2 separate regions of the Homo sapiens genome follow, and region 2 is linked to region 1. The links are contacts of gene promoters, found by promoter capture Hi-C in blood cells and fetal thymus (Javierre and others, 2016). All regions are on one chromosome and are shown on one strand. The core of a region is centred on a gene start or on the middle of the fragment in contact, and the rest is flanking DNA. Distances in the headings are between cores, read along the strand shown. Region 1 holds the start of EVX2 (even-skipped homeobox 2). Region 2 overlaps CIRSR (corepressor of RBPJ and splicing regulator).

What was found. Contacts are between HindIII fragments. The CHiCAGO score rates a contact against its expected background, and 5 or more counts as called.
Region 2: a fragment that was not itself captured here is called in contact with the fragment with the promoter of EVX2 in region 1 in 1 of 17 cell types (total B cells); the score reaches 5.2 in total B cells.

What each region holds. Positions count from the first base shown.
Region 1 is chr2:176,080,051-176,086,815 of GRCh38, forward strand. EVX2 (even-skipped homeobox 2) reads right to left here and starts at 3,912. Exons shown (of 3, transcript NM_001080458.2): 1 at 3,300-3,912; 2 at 2,128-2,399; 3 at 1-788. The coding sequence starts at 3,726. The coding sequence ends at 57. RefSeq lists enhancers at 2,671-3,286, 5,737-6,561. The HindIII fragment of the contact is 15,744 bases long and covers 1-6,765 here.
Region 2 is chr2:174,348,938-174,355,702 of GRCh38, forward strand. CIRSR (corepressor of RBPJ and splicing regulator) reads right to left here. Exons shown (of 10, transcript NM_004882.4): 8 at 2,682-2,788; 9 at 1,723-1,808; 10 at 1-235. Among named protein-coding and RNA genes, the nearest start is that of SP9, 17 kb to the left of the region's middle. The HindIII fragment of the contact is 2,171 bases long and covers 2,869-5,039 here.

The DNA of each region.
Region 1 (6,765 bases), core at 2,662-5,161:
GGACTCCCGGGCACACTCAGAGAGGCGGGCGCGGCCCCCTGGCGGTGGCGACGTAGTTATCTGGTGAGCGGAGCCTCGTCCCTCTGGTCCGGCGGGCTCACGGCCGTCTTACTAAGCACCGCGGCCGAGTAGGGCAGGAAGCCGCTCTCGGAACGCGGCGCCGCCGCGCTGCAGCCGAAGTCCGAGCCTCCCCCGGCCCCGGCGCCCCCGCCGCCGCCGCCACCACCACCACCGCCGCCGCCACCGCCACCCCGGGAACCCAGGGCTGCGGCAGCTGCTGCCGCGGCTGCCGCCGCCGACTGACTGCTGTGGCAACTGAGGCACGAGCAGGGTGCAGAGCCGCCGCTGGGGGGCGCGCCGGCCGCCGCCGCCGAGGAGGCCGCAGCCGCTGCGGCTGCCGCGGCTGCCGCGGCAGAGGCCGCGCTGTTGAGCCCCGCGGCGGCCGCGGGAGCCTGGTAGAGACCAGGGTGGCGGAAGCTACACAGCAGCTCCGGCCGAGAGTAGGGGTGCGAGAGGGCGCGGAAGGTGTCCAGTGGCCGGATGGAAGTAGCGAAGGGCGACGAAGCCGCGGCCGCCGCGCCTGAGGCTGCAGCCGCGGCCGCCGCCGCCGTGACGCCCACGTGCGGGTAGTAGTGCAGCGGCACGTGCGAGTGGAAGGGGTAGGGCAGGCTTCCGGTGGCGGCCGCGTGCGTCATCATGTAGGTGTAGAAGCTGGGGTCGGCTGGGTGCGGCCAGGACATGGCCAGGCGCTGCCGCTTGTCCTTCATGCGCCGGTTCTGGAACCACACCTGCGGGGAGAGACGCGCCGCAGCCTGGGTTAGGGAGCGCCCCGTGTTCCCAGCTCCTGTCCCAGGACCTCTGCCCCTTCCGGACCTCTGAATGGCTTGGTCTACTTCTCTCCGACCAAGCCCAACCCCGAGTACCCTGTGGTCTCCCAGCTGGGAAAGTGTGGACGGCAGTGTGTGGACCGCCGTGGGCACACCGTCCTCAACGAAGAGGGTCCTCTCCCCCGCGTCCGGCTGCTGCTGCTCCTCAGGCTTTTATTCCCTTACTTCTTGCTGCACTTTTTTGTCCCAATCCAACCTTTCCTCTCCCTCCCGCCACCCACCAGTGCCGGTCTCGCTGAGCACCCGTCTCTCAATCCCAGGATTTGTACGGGGATTCTGGGCAGCCTTTGAAGAGAGGCTGCCGCTCAGCTTTTCTGAGAGGTCGCCGCGCGAAGTCTTGAGCCCTCCGAACTGCAAGGACCTGCCCCTAGGGGCACGGGTCCGATTTTGATATTGAAGGGATGATTTTGTTGGAATCGTTTGCCTTAAATGAGTGGGTAGAGCAATGTCTCCATAAACGGGGAAGGGGACGTTTCCACCCCTCCCAACACTATCTAATAAAGACATCATTCGTCACAACTCTAAATTAAAGAAAGCCCGATCAAACCAGAGGGAGACTTCCACACTCCTCCCCTACCCCGTGGAGATTTTTTCTTTTTTCTGCAGTGTCGAACGCTCCATGAAGGGCTCACCAAATCGCCTAACCTCCCGGCTATCTCTCCCAGACGTATAATAAAATTAATAACCTAAAGTTATATATAAATAAGGACAATTTCGTTGCATTTTTCCCCGCAGGAGGTTGCCCTTTTTTCGTTGCCCAAGAGGAAAATGTTCAGGAAACTACTGTCTCAAACCAATCGATTTTAAAGATACAGTATCCTTTTCTCCGTGTAACGATTTATGCGGAAAATAAATCTCCAAGCTCAAGAGCAAATGAAAAGTTTCACCTCTGGTTCCTGCTTGAGGAACAAAGACCAACTGGGCTTGCCGCCTAGGGGAAAGTGGGGCCGTGGGTATGGGCGAGGGGGCATCTGGCCAGGCGTTGGGCACAATGGAGCAGGGGCGAGTGCTTTCAGCATTGGAGTCACCATTCGGGGGCCTTCTTAGATCCGTCAGGCCGGACAACCGTTCGGATTCGGTGGCCGGGAAATAAATAAGCCAATTCCTTTGGTGACTACCCCCCGCGGATTTCCAGACCCTTAGCTAAATCTAGCCACCCAGAAAGGGGAAAGGGGAAAAAGAAACAATCAACCCAGATGCCCCCGGGGAGGCCAGAGCAGGCATGCACTGGAATTGATACCTTGATGGTGGTTTCGGGCAGGTTGAGTGCCGCGGCCAGCTCGCACCGGCGGGGCCGCGACACATAGTTCTCCCGGTAGAACTCCTTCTCCAGGCGCGCGATCTGCTCGCGGGTGAACGCCGTACGGTAGCGCCGCACTTGATCCGCGCCAGAGCCGGAGCCACCCAGCGCCGCGCTCCCGCCGCTGCCTCCGCTGCCTCCATGCAGGCTTCCGAGGCCTGAGCCCGACGCCGACGTCGTGGTGCCGGCAGCCGAGCCGCTCTCTGCGTACCCTGGCAAACAAACGACCAACAGCGCATGAGTGGCTGTAGGACCAACAGCCCGGCGCTGGCGCTGCGCGCGGATCGGGGAAGCCCCGTCAGGAAGGAGAGTCGCTGCCGGAATTGATGGGGTCTGTCATGCTTACAAATTGCTGCCGTTAATGGAATCAATAAAGTTTGGGGAGCCCTTCATAAGCAAATAATAGAAACGGAATTAGGAGATTTCTTTTTTAATAATTAGAAATTTTCAACCAAGGAGGAAAAGTGGCCGAGGGAAAATGCCTACCTCTGGGCGCAGTTTGGGAAGCTCTGGGTTTCCCATGGTCTGGAGACCGCAGGGCAGCTTTTTATACGGCCTCTAACCTTTATCTGAGTCTTCGGGGTTTCAAATATTTTAAGAGTTCCAACACAGCAGTAGCTCAAACCCAAGCCAATAGGGGGTGAAATATACTTTTCAACTCTTTCTCCCGCTGACCTAAACAGAGACGCCGGCGAGGCTTCCTCCGACTTACCCAGAAGAATGCCCCCTCCAGCCCTGAGGGCACAGGGGCAGGGGAGTTCAGAGTAGTTGCCCAGGGTACCTTTCCCAAAAGCAACTCGGCTGCTGACTAGGGGTCTACCGGCTCGCTCGGGCTCTTAGACACGAGCGCAGAAACATTTTCTCGGACTCAGGAGCGAGGGCGGGTGGGCCTGGTGTTCCAGGCTCCGCAGGCCTGAGCCTGGCGGGAAAGCTCAAGGAGCAGAACTGGAAGGCACGGTCCCAGACATGCGTCCCGCCCCCGCCCGTGCTAGCTCGGTGTAGCTTGCCTGTGGAGGGTCTGAGAGGGGAAAAGGCACCGGGAAAGGCTGGCGGGGGCCGCGGAGGAGCAAAGAGGATGGGACTGGAGAGCGCGGTGCGGCCGGCGCGGTTACCTTTGCCATTGTTTTCCTTAAGCTGAGCGGCGCCGAGGCCCCCGGGGGAGCGAAGCGCGGAGCAGCCCACCTCCACGTCGCTGCTCATGTCGGCCTCAGCGGCCGCCTCTGAATAATGGCCCGGCTTCTTGCGGCTCTCGGCGGCGGAGGAGATTTCGGAGGAGACGGTGCTTTCGCTGCCCGTGTGCTGCAGGTTGAACAAAGTGTCTATTTCGAATTTGCCCTTGGCGGGGAGTTCTCCCAGAGCGCTGTGCAGGGGGGCAGACGGCAGGCGCGGGCTTAGGCGAGCCGGGTGCTGCGAATTTTCCAGGGCCTCGAGCACAGCATTGCCAGCCGAGTTGGACAAATTGGAGAATCTCTTGCCCGCCGTAGGGCTGTGCAGCCCTCTCTCCATCAGAATCATCTCTTTTCTTATTCTTTCCATCATCTCAGCTTTCTTAAAAATGTCACAGTGGCCCTGCTGTCCCGTCCTAATGATAGGCTGCGCCTAGGGCTAATTCTCATTCAGCCCCAGCGAACGCCTCTAAATATTATTATCGCTTTCGGAGGGAGGCGGAAAAATTGTGGGATGCCAGAGCGAGGGAATGACTGGTCAAAATGACCCATACATCCTTCCGATCCCGAGATGTCATTCATCAAAAAGTAGCGCCCGCTCGTCATTAAGGTACGAATGACGCTGTTCGAATAATCATTTATTGTAACAGGTTTATAAGCAAATAAATACACCCTCCTGTCAGTGGGTAATGAAGGCAGCTTCAGAGCAGACAAATAGATCCAGGTAGGAGGCGAGAAGAGACAAGTGAGGAGGAAGGCTCCGGTCCTTTGCCCGCTCCGAGCCAGTTCTGCTCGCCCGGGGGTTTGGCCTCGGGGGTGAAATTGACAGTCTGATTAATAGAGCGCGCCGCGGCACATTTCCCCCTTCATTTAGGGGCATCATTACGCTCTCAGTTTGCTAGGTTGCCCCTTAGGTCCTAATCATGCAGCGCCTTCTTCATTTTTCCTTGGACACAGATACGTATTAAATAATAGATAATGGTTTGACTTTCCAGAGTAGGTCCTCGGGAAGGTTTGGTTTTTTTTTTTTTTTTTTTTTTTTTTTTTACCATTTACAAGCTGGGGGCATAAGTGGGGGGAGATAAGGGGGAGGATGCAGGAAGAGTTGCGTAAGGAGAAGACCTTGCGCCTCTCCTATCTGGATTACTTATCTTTCGGATTTCGGAACCAAATATGTATTTTATTTAACAAATAGGACGCCGGAGTTCTTTCCCTCCCTATTTCTTCACCTCAGCCTAAATGCTCTCCTCCCACCCCGGGAGAGAGAGAGAGCGGAAGAGAGGGAGAGAGGGAGAGAGGGAGAAAGGGAGAGGGAGACGGAGTGAGAGAAAGAGAGAGAGAGAGAGAGAGAGAAATAGAAATATCCTAGAGTTTTGAAAGCGCTTTCTTGCTACGTGGCCGCGGAGGTGCATTGGGCCCGCGCCTCCAAACGGAAATCATTAGGTCCTCTCTGATTTTCTAACACCGTCTGCAGAGTGAGATCTGAACTCGAAGTCCCCGGTTTTTTACTTTTATAATCCTGCTGATAGAAAGCCTTCTCGCCTACGCATTTTCCTGAGGGGAAACGAACTAGGCTGGACGATTTGATAGCAGAATTCGACAGCTAACTTTAAACACAGTGGAGATTTACAGCGCCATACGGGCGCTCCGAATCCACGCTCACGTTGCCAGATTTTCCCCTCCCTCCTCAAATAGAATTATTTGCGGCAAAGGCGCTGGATTTCGAGGTCAAAAGAGGAAAGAGGAGACAGCCTTCTTCCCCTACCTCCCCGCTGCCCTCCCTTCCCCTTTGCTTTTCTTCCTTCTCTCTTTCCTCCCCTCATCAACCCCAGCCCCTTACCTGCGGCCACAGGTATTCCCAGCGTTGGGTCCGGGCGCAGAGAGTCGCCGAACAGCCTTACAGCAGCTCTCTGCGGCCTGGGCTTGGAGGCTGAGCCTCTTGGCGACAACTTTGATAGTCATAATGACGCCGGTGGCAACCATTTTAACGAAGATCAATCTTCACTCCAGGCCGCTCCTCATCTCCCGCGGTTGCGCCCACCCTTCCCTGACCCTCCAAGCACTGTGCCCACCCGCCAACGGCCCAGCCGGAGAGAGATTCGCGGACACAGGCGGAGGCGAGGGAGGACGGGGATGGGACGCGGAGGTCCGCCCGTGAGCTTCTGAAGCGGCTGAGAGACCCTGACAATCTGGGCGCTGGGCGCGGGTCCTGCATCCCCACATTTAGCCTCAATCCGAACCCCAACCAGGGCCCCCTCTTCTTTCTGCCGACACACCCAGAACATTGGGGTGTGTTAGGGGGCAAGCTCGAGATCTATTCGCCTATAGCTCTTGGCGCTTTCCTTTTAACCTTAGACCCGTTGGGGGCGCATCAGGAATGTAAGGGGAAGCGAGGTGTGAAGTATATTTATATACATATATACACACATATAGTCAATGCCAAAAGTTTATCTTCTGTTCCCCTCGGCGCCAACTTATTTCAACAACGCGAGCTTTGCTTAGAAAATCAATTCCACATCTTTAAGGTAATAAACGGAAAGCTCGATAGGCAGGCGGTGCCTGGGGGAACGGGGAACCGGCGGGGAACGCAGAGTGGGCATCCAGCGCACCGGGACTGGGACTTGACCCAGCGTCCACCTCTGCCCCTGCCCCATTGGCCACCCAGCTCCGAGCTCCCTGAGTTCTCATTGCGCCGGCTTTGGGGCCATCAGCGCGGTGGGAGTCCAGCCCTGCCAACGCCCCCACCTGCTCCCTCCCTGCTCCGCAGCCCGGATGCCCAATTCTGCCATGCCTGGCAGTCGCTGCTCCTGTGACCCAGGAAGGGTCCCCCTACCCAGTCCTCGCTTGCTCCAGGGACTGAATGGGACACCTTGGTTCAGGCTCGGGTCGTGCTGGGGTGGTGGGGGTGGGAAGTGGTGCGAGACCCTGGCGGGAGTGTGGGTGAACCGAGGCACTGCTTGGGTGGAAATCCGTGGATGCCTTTATTGCTGTCGTTTGGCGCCCCCATCTGTTTTCCTCGCGGTTTCGGCTGCTGTGAGTTGGTTTTCAAGTCGGAGACGCAGTCACTGGGGACTAAGGTGAGGACTGACGACCCCTTCCTCTATCACTCAGCCCGAGGCTCTCCCACATCTTCCCTTCCTCTGGGACCCGACGCCTCTGGTCCCAAAGGCTGCGCCAAACCGGACCTCAGTCTGTCGAAAGGGAAAACACTATTTCTCAGCAGCACCTTCATTCATTAGTGGCTTTGAAAACTATTTTTGCACCTTTTAAATGACACTGATAGTGCATTTCTAGCACGTTTATTACAAAAAACATGTCAGAGACATGTCAGCGAAACTACTCACAGTAAAAGACACCTATAATGTTTCCACTAAACTGGGTGTAGCAGGCAATAATGTTTCATGAGGTACAG
Region 2 (6,765 bases), core at 2,704-5,203, 1.7 Mb before region 1:
GTTGTTATGCCCTGAACACTTGTTTTTCTTTCTTTTCTTCCTTTGTATTTTTTTTTCTTTATTGTTACTCTCACTCTCACTACTGCTTTCTGAAGTCTCAGTAGAGGAAGAGGAGGAGGAGGAGGAAGATGAGGAAGAAGAGGACTTATGTTTTTTGTGTTTACTTCTGCTCTTCTGAAACTTTTTCTTTTTTCTATCTTTTTTCTTTTTTTTCTTCTCCAGTCGATCTAATTTCCTGTAATTGGGAAATAAACAGTAACAGACTGTGTGAAAAACAGTTATTTCATCAACTGTAAGTTATGAACAAACAATATATTTTCTTAGAAGTTATTAAAAATAGTATCCATGGCAGAGCGCGCTGGCTCATACCTGTAATCCCAGCACTTTGGGAGGCCACGGCGGGCGGATCACAAGGTCAGGAGTTCGAGACCAGCCTGACCAACATGGTGAAACCCCATCTCTAGTAAAAATACAAAAATTAGCTGGGCATGGTGGCACCTGCCTGTAATCCCAGCTACTCAGGAGGCTGAGGCAGAAGAATCGCTTGAACCCGGGAGGCGGAGGTTGCAGTGAGTCAAAATCATGCCACTGCACTCCAGCTTGGGCAAAAGAGTGAGACTCTGTCTTAAAAAAAAAAAAAAAAAAAAAAAGAACTGGTATCCATATATGAACGCATTGTTTACTAAATGACAACTCATTTTCTTCCTTTAAAATTATTCAAAGCGTGAATACATTAAATTAAAAAATTAAATGCATCAAGCCAATTTTCTGACTATACTTCAATAGTAATGACTACTTTTTTGTTAAATTCTTACTGAGTTGAAATTATATAGCACTCTAAAGGGTCATCCTAAAGAAAGCCTGTGAAAGGTGTGTAACATCAGTTGGAACTACTAAAAAAGCAAATATATAGCTATAATCAGATGAAAAATTAATTTTATGTACTATTTTATAGTATATAAATATTAATCAACGTTATCAAAATTCAAGAGAATATTCTCCAGAAATTCTGAGTAAGAGTACACATTAAACTTCTGAAATATTGGTTTTATAAAATAATATAGTTAATACTTGTTTTCAACAATTGTTTAGTTTTATAAATAGGACAATCCTATTAAAACATTCTGAATTTCTAGAGTACTTCACATTCTTGGAGGAGTAACTTGTTTATATGGTATGTTTGAGTTACTCTGAAAATAAGTCTCTAGGTTCTGTCTAGCCATTCTCAAAACTCTACATACTGAAAGCATCATGAGCTCCCTCTATTGGACCCAGCAGACATTTCTTGGATTCTTTTAATTCAGAGGTAGTCTGTTTAACAAAATTCACGTTTACCTTAAATTTAAGCATTCTTTCTGCATTCTCATAAAATTTTACAAAACATTTTAAAAATGGCCAAAAATGTTTCCTAAGAACAAATTGTGTGCGAAGATACACACAAATCTATTTTGAAAAGTAAAAGCTATAAATAAGTCTAATTCTAAATTAAACATTCTGAAAAGTGCAATCGTTTTGTGGTACAATCTGAGTATACAATCTTACACTCATTTCCATGTTACTGAAAAGACAGACAAAATTGTATTAGCTATGGGTGAAGAATAATCAATAAATGTGATGCATGGTATAAGGACCTTCATGAGCTCTTAGGATCAGAGTTGAATACGATACTGAGATGAATACTAAGGAAAAAATAAATCTATTAAATATATACTTCTAAATTACCTGAGAAGTTTCTGTTTTTGTTTGGTTGTTAGTGACTTTAAAAATTCAACTTCTGGATCTTCTTCACCCTCACTTGCAACATACTCCTGAGTCAACAAAGATATCATTAAATTGCTAGATTTCAACACAAGGTAGTTAGTAGATAAAAAAGAAAACATTTATAAATAAGTTTTGTATCAGGGACACACTGTAGATGAATATGATATTTTGGATTGGGAAGTGGGAGAGAATTAAAAAATTTTTTTGTAGTCTCCCTGCCGAAGTGGATCATACAGCACTAAGAGGTTAACATGACTGCTTTGCCAGCATTAGGAAACTTTTCCAGGAAAAGGATGATAGACACACACAGATAAAATGTTTAGAGCATGACTTCCATTCTCTATCTCTTGAATGTTAACTCTTGCCAGTTTAAATACTTTATTTTTAATTTAATGAAATATAAAAAAGAAGATTATGAGTTTTACAGGAATGTCAAAATATCCACAATTTTAGCTTTTATTATAATTTCAACAGCACATTATCAAATATATAATAATATAGCCCTTCAAACTCAATCATTTTCTGGATCTATGTATAGTTTAATAAAATAAATAAGTTTAAAATATTTTCTACAATTTTTAGGAGTTTTTACATACTTCTAACCATTGGTTCTATTTAATGTCATATCAGGGGTAAGTTAGCAGGAAGGAAAAACCAACAACCTCATCACCAGTTCAGTTAGATATTTTATCCACATAAACTCAGAGGAGCAGTTTCATTTATTAAAATACAGGTTTATAAACAATTTCTCATTTAGATTAAAATAATAAAGCAAAATCAAAACACATTTTGGGCATTTTCTTTGCTCTATCTTACTTTCCTATGGATATATGCATATTGGAAAACATTAAGTAGCAATTCACAAGCAATCACATTTAGATTTATAGACATTTTCAGCTTACTGATAAAAAGATCATTACCTGTGATGGATCATTTGCGGTCAAGTTTCTCCCCAGTACATTTCGTTTCAGTGCAAACCCACTGTTTCTCATCTCCGCTATTAGCTCCGAGGGGTGCATCGATGGCCCTGTTCACAAAAATCACAGTTTGAATGTATCATTTATATCTCTCTACCTTTTTCGGACTCCACAGTAGGAATGCAGTTGAAGCTTTGTTAAGTAAAATCACAGCTAAATCAACTCAATAATCTTCTGCTGAGCAAATAATCAGATATGATTTTCTAAAACAGCAGTCTGGAGATTCAGAATAGAAAATAATTGCATTTTTCTTTACGTGCAAGGGGAGTCTTCTTATGTAACTTTGTCATATTGAAAAAGATACATTTAGATGTTATCTGGTTGGCAGTTTTTAGTATAAAATCAAAGCAAAATATTATAATAAAAAACTACAATTAAACTTTTAGTAGTTATTCTCTCAGTAAGAGTTCATTTAAAAGATGTATTTTTAAAGGTACATGAGGAATTTATCATCCTTATTTCCAATTCAAAATTCCTCATCCTTATTTGTCAAATAACAATACTGAATACATTGCCAAGTGGTTGCTAATCACACACACACACACACACACATACACACACACACACACCTATGGGTAACCACCAAGTACTTTAATTAATCTTGCTTTTATTCCCAGATTTCAAAATTTTTAATTACTAGCTTGGGTTGCTAACAAGCAGTTTTAGGCTGGCTATTGGTATGTATGTTTTATATTTTTTTACACTACACTTCCACTTTTGCAAAATCTCAGACTGAAAAGTGAGCTTTTTGTTTCCCAAATATGAACTAACAATAAATTTTAAAAATTTTCAGCTGGGAGTGGTGACTCATGCGTGTAATCCCAGCATTTTGAGAGGCAGAGGCGGGAGGATCACTTGAGCCCAGGAGGCCAACTTGGCCAACATGGCAAAACCATGTCTCTAAATAAATAAATAATTTTTTTTTAAAGGTTTGCCCCCTGCCCTCAAACATAAGGTTTATGTAAGGTAAGAGAGACTCTTATCTCATTTTGTATATTCCTGTTTCATTTTGTTTTCCCTGCAGATAGCAAACTAATGACAACATTTCATGGCAGCTATTTAAAGTTGCCAGCCTAAATCACCTACACTGGCTTAAATGACGTACTCCAGCTGATGTGTCTGTCACTTAGGGAAGAATGAGACAGTTACTGCCAAAAAGGAGTTCATACGGGAGGGTAGGGGGATAGAAAAATATTCAGAAATGAGTTCTTTAGTTTGCTGGTTGAATACTTTGTCTATTTCTTTTTACTGCTTTGTTGGTCTTTTACCACTTATTTGCGCACTCACCTGCATATTATCATGGAAAGCAAAAGGCAATCAGTTCAAATTTGTTTACCTGTCAATAGCAGATGTGGTTAAAAATTTGGTGAGAAAAACTCAGTTATAAGATAATATATTTTACTGGACTTTCCAGGCTTTACCATTCCATTCATATTGCGAAGAACAACTGTAAGTTTGCCCTAGGTACTAGGGAGATGATGGGGAAAAACTGTCTATTATTGGAGTATGGGGGAAGTTATTAATGATGTCATAGTTTTAGGAAAAAAAGCCTTATTTAGTTAAAAACAAACAAAAACACCTGTCTTATATTAATATTTCATTTTAAACCAAGAGGGTTTTTAATTTTTTTCTTCTATACAAAATGTTTAATTCCTATGTATTACTTTAATGGCCCTTTAATTATTCAGTCTGGTTGTTAACATTGATAATACAATCTTAAATAAAATTGAATTTTAAATATTAATACTGGTTGCCTCTAAATGGCATAGAGGTGCTCATACAATTAAGAGCTTTTTGTGTGTGTGTGTGTGAGATGGAGTCTTGCTCTGTTGCCCAGGCTGGAGTGCAGTGGCACGATCTCGGCTCACTGCAACCTCCGCCACCTGGGTTAAAGCAATTCTCCTGCCTCAGCCTCTGGAGTAGCTGGGATTACAGGCAACTGCCACCATGCCTGGCTAATTTTCGTATTTGTAGTAGAAACGGGGTTTCACCATGTTGGTCAGGCTGGTCTCAAACTCCTGACCTCGTGATCTGCCAGCCTCAGCCTCCTAAAGTGCTGGGATTACAGCCGTGAGCCACCGCGCCCGGCTCAATTAAGAGCTTTAAATGAATAATAGAATGTTTACTTTGGTGGCTTCTCAAATTTCACATGTAGGAACTTAATTTTATAAAGTAGAAAATGTCTCTTCTGAAGTGTCAAAACTACATTTCCTTGTCAACAATTTTATTAGATATCGAATGAATTCAGACACCAAACTTGTTAATAATTAGAATAAAAACCACTCCAATAAAGGGTCACAAAGCTTGGCCATCATGATGAGAGGTTATACTAATTTCATCAGTTTTCATCACAAGATGGGTAATTTTAATAAGATGTTATAGAAAGCATGCCTTCTTTACAGTACTTCCAACTATGTCAAGAAAATGATGTATTTCCCCAGTGTTACAGAGATTATACAGACTATTAAACAATCATTACTCTTCTAGCATTTATATTTTTCAAAAATCCCAACTGAAAACTCTGTGTAGTATATAAATTTAGCACACTTTCACAATGTATGACTGTAAATAGAGTGCTTAGTGAAGTGCTCGACAAATAGTACTTAATAAAGAGTAACAACTATTATTTTTACCAGTACCTATTCAACTTTCTTATATAAGAAATTGTCTTTTTATAAGATATATTATATATGTACATATATTACTTATATATGTACATATATATTTTATATATTATATATAATATATATTATATGATATATATAATATATTATATAATATAATATATAAAATATATATAATATATATTATATTATATAAATTATATTATATATATCATATAATATATTTTATATATTATATAATATATATTATATTATATATATTTTATATATTATATTATATATTATATATATCATATAATATATATTATATTATATATTTTATATATTATATAATATATATTATATATTTTTATATATTATATAATATATATTATATATTTTATATATTATATAATACATATATTATATATAATATAATATATATTATATAATATATATTTTACATATGTATATATATTATATATATATATATTTTTTTTTTTGGTAGAGACAGGGTTTTGCCATGTTGCCCAGGCTGGTCTTGAATGCCTCAGCTCAAATAATACACCTGCCTAGGTCTCCCAAAGTACTGGGATTACAGTTGTAAGCCACTGCACCCGGCCACTATCCAAATTCCATGACTATCTTACGGTACTTTTCATAATACAAAAAAATGCTCTTAGTAGTAATACTTTTCACAATGCAGTCTTATTCACATTTTTTTTATACTTAAACCTTCTCCTATCAACCAAAGTTCTGAGTTTAAAGTTCTAGGTTTAGGAGATGAAACAAGTCAGGTTTAATCAAGATATATTTAGCAAGTATCTTTCTACTTTCACATTATTATGACAGAGGCTACGTAGAGTTACACTGACAGAAATGACTCCAGATCTTTTGAGAACTCAAAATTTGGTTGATAAAATAGATGATTACAGATACGTTGATAAAATAGATTACACAAATATGTTCAAATGTAAAATAACTACTTTTATGTATGGTGCCTTAATAATTTCAATTATAGCTGGAGTTGGATCTTAAAAATTGTTTGGCTTATTCTTAAATTTGTCATGGTAGAATAATACTAGAGAATTCAGAAAGAAGGCATTTGTTCTAAAATGCAGATTTGTGAGGGCTCCTTTCTAGATCATCTCAGCCAAGCCTTCACAGCATTGAAAACCAATGTTCCCACTTAGAAAAGCAGGTCCACTGAAGAAACTGCTTTCAACATTCATTTATTTTACAAACTTTTCTTTGCTGTGATATGGATAAGTATCAAAATACCAATTGTGTACAGTTCCATGTTCTGATTAGACCCAGGCTCTACTAGAAAAATACCATGAAATCGAGTCTCAGGAAAGAAAAAATTCCTAGAAGGTAAATTATGCTATACAAAATTATGTGTGTAAAGCGCTTAATCTACTCAC